3 separate regions of the Homo sapiens genome follow, and regions 1 and 3 are each linked to region 2. Evidence: promoter capture Hi-C in 16 types of primary human blood cells and fetal thymus (Javierre and others, 2016). All regions are on one chromosome and are shown on one strand. The core of a region is centred on a gene start or on the middle of the fragment in contact, and the rest is flanking DNA. Distances in the headings are between cores, read along the strand shown.

Region 1 (4,096 bases), core at 501-3,000, 630 kb before region 2:
GCTTCCCTTGTGTCTGGGAGTCACCAAGCCTCCTCTGATGGCACTTGGGACACCCCCCTGAGGGCAGGGCTCCCCATTTTAGTGTCTGCCAGAAGGGAAATGACAGGGTGACCAGAGTCCCATTTTGATGGCATCTGCGCAGGCTCTGGGGAGCAGGGCCACATGCACCGGCTGGCAGATGGGGGCTCCTGTGCAGTCTGGCAGGAGCCATGGCTACAGCCTAGGAGCAGGAAGCTCCCTGAAGGAGTCGTTTCCCTCCTTAGACTCGGGACTCCTGAAGCCAGAGGCATCTCTCTCTGCCATCTAACTGGAAGCTCCCTTGGGCAGGAGTGTTTCCTCTCTCAGACTAGGAGCTCCCAGAGGGTGGGGAATGTGTCTCCCCTCACCCTGAAGGCCCCTGAGCCTCTAGGCAGACAGGGGCATGGATAGGGTGGGGGCAACTTAACATTCTCTCCACCAGGAAGGATCCTGTTGGAATTAGAATTAAAGATATGAAATGTTCATTGCCTTGGGATCAGGATGGGACAGACCTCAGCGGCAAGGCCTCTGAGAATACTCAGACCAGCCTGGAAAGGTTAGGCAGGTTTCAGGGTGAGGCCAGAGGAGCTATGCCAGAGGCAGGGCATGCCCTGGGCCCATCATGCCAGCCCTGCCTTCACCGAGGCAGGGGGCAGAGCTTTGCTGCTTGGGGCCATGACCCAGGCAGAGTCTTGAGACCCCTGCCTCTTGCACCTTAGTCCTGCTAGAATCCAGGACTTTGCAAAAAAAAAAAAAAATCTCAGGATTCTTTTTGCAGCAACGCCCACATGCACACCTCCTGCTCCTAGGCCTAGACCCCCAAAGAAGGGCCCCTAGACTGAGATATCCAGGGGAGGGCCTCAGAGCAACCCCTGCACTGAGACCTCACAGAGGAACCTGGAGAAAAACCCTTCAGTCGGCCGGGCGCGGTGGCTTACTCCTGTAATCCCAGCACTTTGGGAGGCCGAGATGGGTGGATCACGAGATCAGGAGATCGAGACCATCCTGGCTAACATGGTGAAACCCCATCTCTACTAAAAATACAAAAAAATTAGCCGGGCATGGTGGTGGGCGCCTGCAGTCCCAGCTACTCGGGAGGCTGAGGCAGGAGAATGGCGTGAACCTGGGAGGGGGAGTTTGCAGTGAGCTGAGATCACACCACTGTACTCCAGCCTGGGCGACAGAGCGAGACTCCATCTCAAAAAAAAAAAAAAAAAAAAAAAACCCTTCAGTCAACACTTCAGCACTTCACAGAGAGTTCTTCCAAGGGGGAAGGCCCAGAGAGGCCCAGGTTGATCCCACCAGGGAAGCTGGAATGAGAGAACTGTGGAGACAAAGACAGAGACCCACGGGGATCCTCCCCACCCTGCCCTCAGCAGGACAGAGGTACTCACCAGACCAGGTGGCAGAGACAGACCCAGGAAGGAGAGCAAGGCAGCCAGGCTCCCAGGGTGAGGATTTATATGTGGGCCCCACTGGCCCCCAACTTGGCATTTTAAGGAAACCAAACCTGCCTCAACCTGATCCCACCAAACCCTGGCCTCTTGCCATTCCCACTCATTCCCTCCCAGCCCCCTCCCTCCCAGAGAGTGCCAGCTCCACCACCAGCTGGGGGAGGGCTCTAGGCCAGGTCAAGGGCAGCCCCTGAGCCCACCCAGGCCACAGTGGGAAGTGGGAGGTGTCGTGGGGACTGGGCATCCTGGACCGGGGTGAGGGGAGGCAACCCCTGCTCTGGGGCCTGGAGACTGGTGCCAGGCCTCATTCTCATGACATGCCTGTGAGTCACAGCCCACTCCTGTGTGAGAGGCTGTGAGCACACGCTGAGACTTCATGGTCCAGTGCTCGTGTACATACATGCGCCCGTGTGTGTGAGAGAGAAGCAACCTGGGGCCACCCTTAGGAAGCTGGGGGCCAGAGGAGGCAGCTGGGGGACATCAGGAGGAGAAGGACAGGACTGACTTCAGGGCATGGATGAAGTGGAGTGACTTTTAATGGCCAGCACCAGAATACCTCTTAATGAGGTAATGAGGTAACTAAGTGTGCTTAGAAATACCTGGGAAGGTCCCTCTGTGTAGGAAGGTGTCTGGAAGGATGGGGAAGCAGTGAGAAATGGGGTTGCTCTACACACAGCCGCAGTTGGGCTGGGCCACAGTCTGTGGGGAGCATAAGGAAGTCCCGAGTAGTTAAAGGCTGAACAGGAAAACTTTGGCCTCCTCTTCTCCAGCTTGAGGGCTGGGTGGGTGGGTAGGGGTACATCCCTACCCAAGGCTGAAAACACCAGCTGGACAGCTTCCCAAGCCAGAATCCAGGCCTGAAGCACAGCCCTCAGCCACAGCCCTCTCTCACTGCCCCCCACACACATGTCCTCCCCAGACCCGGAGAAAGGCAAACACTGTGGCCATTCAGAGCCCAGCCCAAGGGAGGGCTGCCCCCTCCCAGGGCCCCTTCCTCCTTGGCCCTTTGTCTATCCCGGCCCGTCTGGGCATCAGGGCACCGCCCTTCCTGTGGCCCCAGCTCCCCTCCCTGCTCCAGCTGTCGAGTAGCTTCTTCCCCTCCCCCAGCCCCTCTACCTCAGCCCTAAGTGACTCACCCGAGGTTCCAGGCCCAGATGCCCAGGCAGTGACTCAGCGGCACACCCTCCTCCCCCAGGGCCAGGGCAGCAGCAGTCCCAGAGCAGTAGGTGGAAGCCCCAGCCCAGCCTGGCAGGGAAAGCACTGGCACAGAGACCCCAAACAGGCCCTGCCAGGAGGAGCTTTGGATAATGACATGGCAGGAGGATCAGACTGAGAACAGGCTGGTCCCTTCCTAGCGGTCACCGTGTGACTTGGGGGCCAGCCTGAGCAGTGTACATGAAGTCAGGCCTTGGGGCCCCCAGTGTCCTCTTCTACACCTTGGCACAGCCACCGAGTGTCCCTTGCTCCCCTCAGTACTTGAACCCCTCATGCTACTTGTCTTCCCATCGAGGCCTACTTCAAGTAGAACTCGGAATAAAAACCCTTCACACTGAGGGTGAGGGACAAGGGAGCGCAATGCATCGATTTTCACAGCCATTCTTTCCTTTTAACTAAGGGCCTCCACAGGGCCTTCCCTGCTCAGAAACTGCAGTGCATCCCCATGGCTGTCCCTTAAAGCCAGGCGGTATGTTCTCACTCATAAGTGGGAGTTGAACAATGAGAACATATGGACACAGGGAAGGGAACACCACATACCAGGGCCTGTGGGCAGTTGCGGGGAGAAGGATGGGGGCAAGGGGAGGGAGAGCATTAGGACTAATACCTGATGCATGCGGGGCTTAAAACCTAGATGATGGGTTGATAGGTGCAGCAAACCACCATGGCACATGTATACCTATGTAACAAACCACATTCTGCACATGTATGCCAGAACTTAAAGTAAAAATAAAATAAAATTAAATTAAAATTAAAAATTTTTAAAAAGCCTGGCAGTGAGGCGCTCCAGACTCGGCCTGCTGCTGCGTGTCCCTTAAACACACCGGCACATGCAACTAGTGTGGCCAAGACCCTCGGCTTGCGCTGACCCCTCTGTTCAGAACGTGCCCACACATGCCCATGCCCTCTATCCTGCTGAAATCCAACCCCCCCTTCAAAGGCCACTGCAGGGAGCCTTCCCAGGGCCCAACCGGATTCAGTGTCTACCTGTTCTGTCCTGTACAAAGCGCCCCTTTTGCCCTTTTCGTGTGTACTTAGAGAATTCTGATTTTGACTGAATCACCTGTGTACTTGTTTTCTCTCAGCCTCACCCCCACATGGTGAGCTCACCGGTCTTACTCATTTCTGCATGAGGTAAGGGTCTCGCCCACACCAGGTGCCAACCAGTGCTTACGGCTACCACATGGCAACAGGGGTCACTGGAGGAGTGCTTAGGAGCAAGGGAGTCCTTCTCACCCCGTGAAATCACACCACTGACTATGCTACGAAATAATCACCTCTCCTCTGGATCCCAAGAGTGGAACCGAGACAACGGGTCGGAAAAGAGCTTCAGAGAGCTACAAATCCCTGAGGAGTGACAGCAGGAAACTGCGGCTCCCAGGACCCAGTGAGGGAGTTGAGCAAACCCC
Region 2 (3,963 bases), core at 243-2,742:
TGTAGGGATCTCTCTGCTGCCCTAGGAGCAATGCTTCATATGGCATCTCCATGGCATAAAGGCAAATGCCTGCATTGGCCAAGATAAATAAACCCATATATGGCCAGGGTCAGTGTGACCTCCATTTCCCATTGTGAAATCCGAGCTGGTTTTGTTGGACAGTTGAGAGATGAGAGGTTCCCTATTAATACACATATCCACATGCCAAGACTTGGACATAAAAGCTAAGAATGTGGCATGGGGGAGGAGGTAGGATAAGTGACAGCATTCTGAACTTAGAGTCCCCTCTCTTTGTCCAGGTCCTGGGAAAGATAATTAAATTCCTGGGTTGGTGATAGGAGATAAATGAGACCTTTACATGTATTAAAAAAAAACTTTTAACATGTTGGAGATGTCTTTAAGAAAGAAAATACATGCCATTATGAGAATATACCAGCATGTGGTTATATGCAAAAATGTATGTGAGTATATATGTCTGTGTTCCATGAACCCACAAGTGTGTTTGGAATTTCGTCATACATTAACATAAAGATCTATATGTGTAGATTAAACCCATCCTCCATCTCTCTAATACTCACATCAGCAGCCTTCTTCTCTGCCAGTTCCAGCTTCTCCTGGGCATCCTTCAAAGCTTCAGAATACTTGTCCAGCTCATCCTCTGTCCCTTTCAGCTTCTTCTGCATGGCTGCCAGCTCATCCTCCAGCTATAGGAGCCCAGAGAGTCACACACAAAAACACACAAACACAACAATGCAGGGTTGGACCCTGGGCTCTTGGAGCCCTGAGTGTAACCTCCATGTTACCATCCCTAGTGAGACACACTTTCTCCCCAGCCACTTCCAGCCCACTGCCTCAGGAGTTATGCCGTAGCTTGGCCTGTGACCCTGTAATCTCTGATCCTAAGATGACCAAGCCATCCTGGGTTTTCATCCAAGACCCCTGGATGATAAATATCTAAAGTGTAGATGCCCGTGATGCTATTTGAGTGAAAAGAGATGCTCTTTCCCTCTAGAACTCTTACCTTTTCCTCTAGAAGTCAAGGGTTCTTCCAAAACATGGTCCATTTCTACTTAAATTCAGCAGACATACTGTGGCTCACTGACTTTCCCAAGGTCACAAAGGCAGTCTGAGACAGATATGTTAGATATCCTCTGCTCCTCCAGTGAGGCTGGGGAGTCCATCCCACCCCCAAAAAGGAGGTGACACCAGTAGTCACTGTCTTTCCCATGAAAACTCCCTTCCATTTCACAGTCTTGTTCACTAGCAGATGAGAGAGATCAATGCCAGTGCCTACCTGTTTACTTCTTTCTTCTGCCTGCTTCTGCTCAGCTTCAGCTTGCTCTGCCCGATCCAGAGCATTCTCCTTGTCTAACTTCAGCATCTGCATCTTTTTCTTGATGGCCTCCATCATGAGCAGTGGCTGTTGGTAGGCTCACCTGTGAACACTGGAGAACTGGAGACTGGGGCAAGAAAGAAGGGGCTGCTGCCTGAGTGACCAGGAGGTCCCCAGACTTGAGTCTTTATCTGTGCTCATAGCTCCACCTTTTGTTCCTAATATGGTCTTTCCAGCTCCCTCCACCCCATCATTGTTCTCCTGGGGGAACACAGGGTGAGACGCTTTGATGAACTGACATCACCAGCAAAAAAAATATCTAGCAACAGCTGAGGCTGATTTTAGACAATGGAAAGTGGGGGAGGGAAGAGGTTCTCCCTGACCCTGAAACTTTCCACTCATTCTGGGCAGCTCTATGGATGTTTTAAAAGAAGAGGAAGAGGGGAGGGAAGAACATTGAAATAGAGAAGTGTACTTTGGCAATTCTAGGTTGGCAGTTTGCATCCAGGGGGTCCTGGTTGCCTTTCAGCTTCCCGTTTCACTCTCCCCCAGACTGTGTTGAATGCTGGTCAAACTCCGTTAGTTGAGTTTTAGCTTTTGATTCCTGGTATTCAAGGAGCTTGGGCACAGGGAAGAGGGGAGGTCACTCATGATCCTTAACAATTCTCCCAGATCCCCAGATCAAATTGCTGTGCTATTCTGGGAGTCTCCGATTGGCAGGGAGACGTTTTTCCTCCCCACCAAGAGCCACAAGAGTAGAGTAAGAGGTAGGGTTGGAATCTCCAACCCTATCCTTGAAGGCTATCCCAGAGCTTCAAGTGGGGTGGGGAGAGAAACAGGGGAGGGTCAGAACAATCCAGACAGGATCATACCCTTTGTTTTCCCACAGTAATCTTAAAATAGAACTGTTGTACCCACACAGACTTTGGTCTGTGTGGCTCTCTCCTCTTCTTCCCTTTATCTTCTCCCTTCTTAATTCTCCCCAACGCTGCCACTCACCACATCATCGTAATCATCATTATCAGCTCTATTCTTTCCAGTTTAGTTCCAGACCATGTTTATTCTTCCATTGGGAGCCTTGTTACTAACAGGTGGCAAGGATACCAGTCCACTGGCACCATACACCTGAAAATATGCCAAGGGAGAGGTGGGCACTGTTCAAGGTGACCAGATATATTGGACAAATATAAATGGCTCTAGTTAGTCATTTATGTCAGGATACTGAGAGTTAATGCTAAGCCCCAGCAATGGGGGAACGGAGACACCCACCAGGCCAGTGGGTAGAGCAGAGCTGGAGTCCACTATTGAGAGCTTCCAGTCACTAGAGGTAGATAGGCAGATAGACCATCAGCTGACTCTCGACAGAGAGAGGAGAAACCAAGTCTCCTTTCTCTGGAGATTAGCCAGGGAAAGGGGTTAGGGAACAGGGAGAGGAAGGAGTGGAAAATGGGGGGGGGGTGGGCAAGTGAATAAGGGGGAGAAAAATACGAGGACAAGAAAAGGCAAAGAAATGTCCCTTCTAGTATAAGGGGACAAGAAATAGAAAGATTCTATCCTCAAATTCCAACTCTCTCCCATTCCCACACCAGCCCTCTTAGGTTAAGATTGAAATGCACATAGGTTGCAGCTACTGGACTTTTGGGGGGGTCCTGGAGAGAAGAGGTTCAGTAAAAGAGACAGGAGCCCCAGAGATTGAAGTATGAAAGAGGGTGGTGCTGAATCACCTGCTGCTGTAAGAATATGTTTGACATTTAGTTGGTTCCTAATTAAACAACCCAATATCAAACATATCACACAGAAGCAGGCAGGAGAGCTTTGGGGGTCATCTGCCTTCCTTCCAGTTGCAAAGAAAGAATAGAGCAGACACCAGGCACCAATCATGTCTAGGTGGAGAGCCATCTCCTTGAGGAAGGGTACTGGCTCCTGCTCTTCACCTCCCAAGACAGCCAGCTCTTGCTTATTGTCCTACGTGTCATCCCTGCCTCAGCTCCTCCTCTACAAGCTCCTGGCCTTTGCTGGATCACGTTGGCCTAAACCAGGAAGAATACCTGGCAGGGCTCCACATCCGGGCAACTATCGTTCCCTAGAGCTCCCACACAGAGCTTCTCACCCTGATGTCACGGCCCCAGCGCCCAGAGGATCAGCCGTGTCAGCAGCTCCTCATCAAAATTGCCACCTGCTCTCTTCAATGCCATTCCAGCTGCCCTGAGGCTTTCCGGGGTGGGGGCAGAGGACTTGTACACCCTGCTTTACCTTTCCAACAGAACTCCTAACCTTCCCAGATCACCCCCACAAGACTACTGAGGTCCGTTCAGGAGGCACCATCCTGGCACCGTCCTGCTCTTAAGTGCTGCAGATGCTTGGCTTCCCCTTTCTGCCAGCTTAACCCTTCTCACCTTCTCCCCATGTCCTCCAGGCATCCTCCTTAAAGTCACCCTTGGATGTCCAGAACAGAAGAATAACTTGTCTCCCTGGCAGGCTCCATCGTGGGCTCCAGAAGAGAAGACTTATAGTTCCCCACCTTGCCTGGCAGAATTGAAACTAAGGCTTTAGACTGAGGGTAAGAGAGGAAACTTCTGCCAGGAAGCAGCCTGCAGTCCACAGGAGTCCTCTCCTCTTCTAGGGCTTTT
Region 3 (4,183 bases), core at 888-3,387, 780 kb after region 2:
CAGGGCTAAGGTAGGGCCCAGGGTCTCAGAAGGTGAGGGTTCCCAGCACAGGCAAACCACACTTTTGCCTCCTGGCCCTCTCCCCACATGCCCCACACTTGCCTCCCCACTGCCCCTCCACATTTCCCAGCAGCATCCCTATCCCCAAGGACCCCAAGTACCTTTCTCCTCCTTGTCGCCCCCTTAGCACCCGGCACAGCCTCACACACCAGACTGATGGCCTCCCTGGGGAAAGAGGGGTACTCAGACCCAGCGCCTGCCTGCCTGCCTCCCACTCAACTGGGGCTGCCACAGGGCTGGGGGAGGGGAAAGCCAGGCCAGACTCCCAGGGCACTCCAGGCTCTTTGTCATGGTGGATTGAATTAAGGGCCTTTAATATTTGATGACACTGAGAGGCCACTTCCTGGCTGATTGGGTTAGGGCCTCAATGGGTATAGCCCCACCCCCTTCCAGCTACCAAATGTCCCATTCCCTTCCCAAAGGCAGCAGCAACCTTCCATCTACCCCCCTTTTCTACTCCAGCTCCACCTGCCAGCTGCTTCTGCCACCTTCCCCACAACTCCCAAGGCTGGATAGGTAAGGAGGATCCGGGCCAAAGGGGCCTCCTTTCAGTAAGAGGCGGAATCACTACCTCAGCTTTCTCTCAATCCCCTTTACTACGCAAAGATCAGCCCCCAGCAGCAGCACCCAAGTGACCCACTCCCCTCCTCTGTTTCCCATGGCCTCACTAATCCCAGGACTCCCACAATCCACTCCCTCCCCACTAACCTGGTGACCTGAGTCCGGGTGTTGAAGTCCAGGGCACGCATTGACTGGAGGACCTCCACACAACCCATGTACTAAGGGGAGGGAGAAGAGGACAGCAGGTCAGCGGCTCCCCCACCCCAGCCCCTTCACAAAGGGCCCTAGGACTTTACCCATATGGTCCCTAAGGGAAGTAAAGAGGAAGAAGTTCTGCCCACTTCCCGTGGCTACATCCCACAACCAAGGTGAAAGACAACAGGGAATGAGGAGAAAAAGAAAAGGCAGGCTAGAAGGACCTCACACACTGGGGAGAGAGTTTGGAGGGGACCGACAGGCATTGGCTGGGATGGAGTGACAACTCCAGAAAGCGGGAGGAGAATGGAGGAAAGATCAAGAAGTCATTCATTCCAACACTTATTAAGAGCTTCTGCCATGCTGGGCATTGTGCTAAGCATGCCAGGGTGGGGGTGGGGGAGTGAAAAGAAGGAAGGGGGCCCAGGCAAAGCTGGAAGGGAAGGGGCTACAGAATCGGGGAAGGGATGAGAAAGGTTTAGGAAATAGGACACTGAAACGGGGTTGTTGGGGAACAGCAGGAAAAAAGAGATTCCGGCCAAGCTGGAGTGAGCATTAGAACTGGAGGGGGTCTGCGGGGGAATGGAGAGGAGGATGTTCACTCACCCGAACCAAGTAGGAAACCCCGGGTCCCATGACTTTGTCGTTGGGATGCAGCCAGCCCCGCGTGGGCTTATTGACAAAGCTCCCGTGGCGGGTCCACTCCTCGCCCCCAAGCTGGCCCCCTTCCACCCGAGTCCTGCGCCCGCCGCCTCCACTCAGCTTGTTCATGTCCTGGAGGAGGGGTAGGGGGCCTGAGTCTGGCATGGCTGCCCCTACGATCCCCTCCCCATCATCAGCTGCCCTTCCTGGCTCCCCCTTAGACCCTGGGCGCCCCCCAGCCGGGTTGGCCAGCCTCAGGTTGCTCATCCGGGGGAAGAAGGAGCACAGGGTAGTGGGACTATCGTCCCCAGGCAGAGGAGGCAGGATGGGCCCCAGGGATGAAGCTGATGGGGAAGGCAGCTCCTCCGGGGGGGTGGACCCAGAAGCCCCTTCCTCCAGCGATGACAGAGACTCATTCCGGAGTGGATTGTACTTGGGCTTGGGGGGCAGGAGATCCATAGTTGAGGTGAAAGAGGGGCTGCTGCCCAGCCTGGCCCCCCTGCCAGTTTGGGCAAGGGGGCCAGGCAGGGGGTATCCCCAGGCCCTTAGCCTGGTTGGACCTCTGTGGCCCAGGAGTCACAGAAGTCCTGGGGAGGGAGAGGGACAAGTGGCTTCCGCTCCCCAGCTCAGACCCAGACAGTTTCAGGCCCCATCCCCGCCCAACGTGGAGCCTCTTCTCTGGCTGAGAAGAGAACAGGCTGGACCCAGCGCTTCTGGCTCCTCCCCAGGGGCGGGGAGCTAAGGGGAGAGACCAATCGTGAGGACAGTGCTGACTCACAGGCTCAGAGGGGCTGAGCCCCCACCCCGCCCCAACCTCGAACTGGAGCAGGGGGTAGGGCTATCCAAGCCCCTCTCCCCTGCCCTATACAAACAACTAGTAATCTGGGGAGAAGTAAAGTGGGGGTGGGAGGGAAGGATGGAAGAGTGGGACGGAAAGGAAGGAGATAGGAGGTCTGGGTCACTCAAAACCGGACACACGCAGGCCAAAGGGGGCAGGAAGCCAGGCAGGAGTACAGGGGAATGAGGGAGGAAACAGAGGCAGCTGGGGGTGGAAAAGGGAGGAGATCTCAGAGCTCAGCATTTCCCTTCCTGTCCTGGTTGGACACTCGAATTCCCCCACCCTCTCTATGCCCGAAAGCTGGCTGGCCCCAGCCCAGGCCACCCCCAACCGCTACCCCATACAGTAAGCCTGGGCCATTAGCATCCTCTGCTACAGCAGCTGTGGACTGGAGCTAGCGAAGTGGGGATGGGAAGTAAGTGGTCCCAATGGATGCAGAGCAGGGCCAAGAGGAAGAGCAAAGCTGGTGAAAAAAGGGGAATAAAGTTCAACCTGGATGATACATCAGGAAGCTACCAGGCAAGAAGGGAACAAGAGGACATGCTGGTCACGGCTTGTTCTCTACGTATGCCATCTACCACACCAAGACCGATGGCTCATAGCCAAGCACTGTCCTGTCTCCCCTTTCCACAGGGCTTGTTAACACAGCACACTGTCAAGGGTGAGAATGAGGCAATCAGGTCCCCACTCCCACTCCAAACCACCCCAATTCACATCCCTCCTCTTACAGGGCCCTAAGCCCCACCAAAGAGCACAGCATCCTTCACACCAGGGAAGGAGCCTGGCTGGAGGAGGTGGAAGAAACAGTTCTCCAAGAGAAGTAGAAACTACAGGCCAGGAAGGGACAGAGAGATCAGAAGACACATCTGCGTCAATAAGGACAGGAGAAAAATAAGTACAGGAGAAAGGGGTGTCAGGAGAAGATGGGTTGAAGCTGGACACAGGGAACAGTCCCAAACCCATTCCTGCCACCCACGGCTTCCTGCCACTGCTCTTCCGGAGAATGCCACAGGCAAAGCTGGAAAGTGACCAAAAAAAAAAAAACAAAGATACGTATTCCTACCGGGCGCGGTGGCTCACACCTGTGATACCAGCACTTTGGGAGGCTGAGGCGGGTGGATCACCTGAAGTCAGGAGTTCGAGACCAGCCTGGTCAACATGGTGAAACCCTGTCTCTACTAAAAATACAAAAATTAGCTGGGCGTGGTGGCGGGCACCTGTAATCCCAGCTCAGGAGGCTGAGGCAGGAGAATCGCTCGAACCCAGGAGGCGGAGGTTGCAGTGAGCCGAGATCGAGCCATTGCACTCCAGCCTAGGTGACAAGAGCAAAACTCCGTCTCAAAAAAAAAAAAATACGTATTCCCCCCAGCTCACCTTGGAATTACCCTTAGATTTACTTCAGAGAATTAAAATATAGATAGATAATTATCCTGATTAACAACATTAACACTTGAAGTGTGTTAGATGCTGTGCTTAACTCTTACATCTCCCCTTAGTGCTCATTCCAGAAGAGCTTTGTCACTCTGCCAGCCAATCCTGAGAAGGAATTTTATCACTTCATTTCCAGCCAGCTCTCGGGCATAGAGAGAATGAGGAAAGGATTCCACCATAGCCTCACACCCCCAAAACACACAAACACACACTAGGATGTCCCTCATCTGTAGAGATGATGTTCTGTGGGAGCCTACAGTATCCAGAGCCAGGGAAGGACCAACGGGTGTGGGCGTTCGGAAGAAAAGAAAGACGTATGACTCTTGAAATTTACATAGGGAGAAAGGAGATTGCCTACTGGAAGTCCAGGTGATTGGGTGTAGGGGAAAAGCTGTGTGTGGCTTCGCAGCCCAACTGGGAGGAGGGGACAGGGGCGGGAAGTGGCAGGAAATGGCG

The links. Contacts are between HindIII fragments. The CHiCAGO score rates a contact against its expected background, and 5 or more counts as called.
Region 1: a contact is called between the fragment with the promoter of S100A2 here and the fragment with the promoter of TPM3 in region 2, in 2 of 17 cell types (naive B cells and erythroblasts). The highest score is 7.4, in naive B cells.
Region 3: the fragment with the promoter of SHC1 here is called in contact with the fragment with the promoter of TPM3 in region 2 in 2 of 17 cell types (M0 macrophages and erythroblasts); the score reaches 6.4 in M0 macrophages.

The regions. Positions count from the first base shown.
Region 1 is chr1:153,564,094-153,568,189 of GRCh38, forward strand. S100A2 (S100 calcium binding protein A2) reads right to left here and starts at 1,751. Exons shown (of 3, transcript NM_005978.4): 1 at 1,413-1,751. RefSeq lists enhancers at 108-865, 866-1,623, 1,743-1,802, 1,776-2,975, 2,673-2,912 and 1 more. The HindIII fragment of the contact is 6,475 bases long and covers 1-4,096 here.
Region 2 is chr1:154,190,608-154,194,570 of GRCh38, forward strand. TPM3 (tropomyosin 3) reads right to left here and starts at 1,493. Exons shown (of 10, transcript NM_152263.4): 1 at 1,295-1,493; 2 at 579-704. The coding sequence starts at 1,411. MIR190B (microRNA 190b) reads right to left here and starts at 3,136; the gene lies at 3,058-3,136. The HindIII fragment of the contact is 3,875 bases long and covers 630-3,963 here.
Region 3 is chr1:154,968,610-154,972,792 of GRCh38, forward strand. It overlaps SHC1 (SHC adaptor protein 1), which reads right to left and starts at 2,138. Exons shown (of 12, transcript NM_001130040.2): 1 at 1,423-2,138; 2 at 769-839; 3 at 162-225; 4 at 1-5. The coding sequence starts at 1,917. RefSeq lists enhancers at 915-1,465, 1,466-2,016. The HindIII fragment of the contact is 11,130 bases long and covers 1-4,183 here.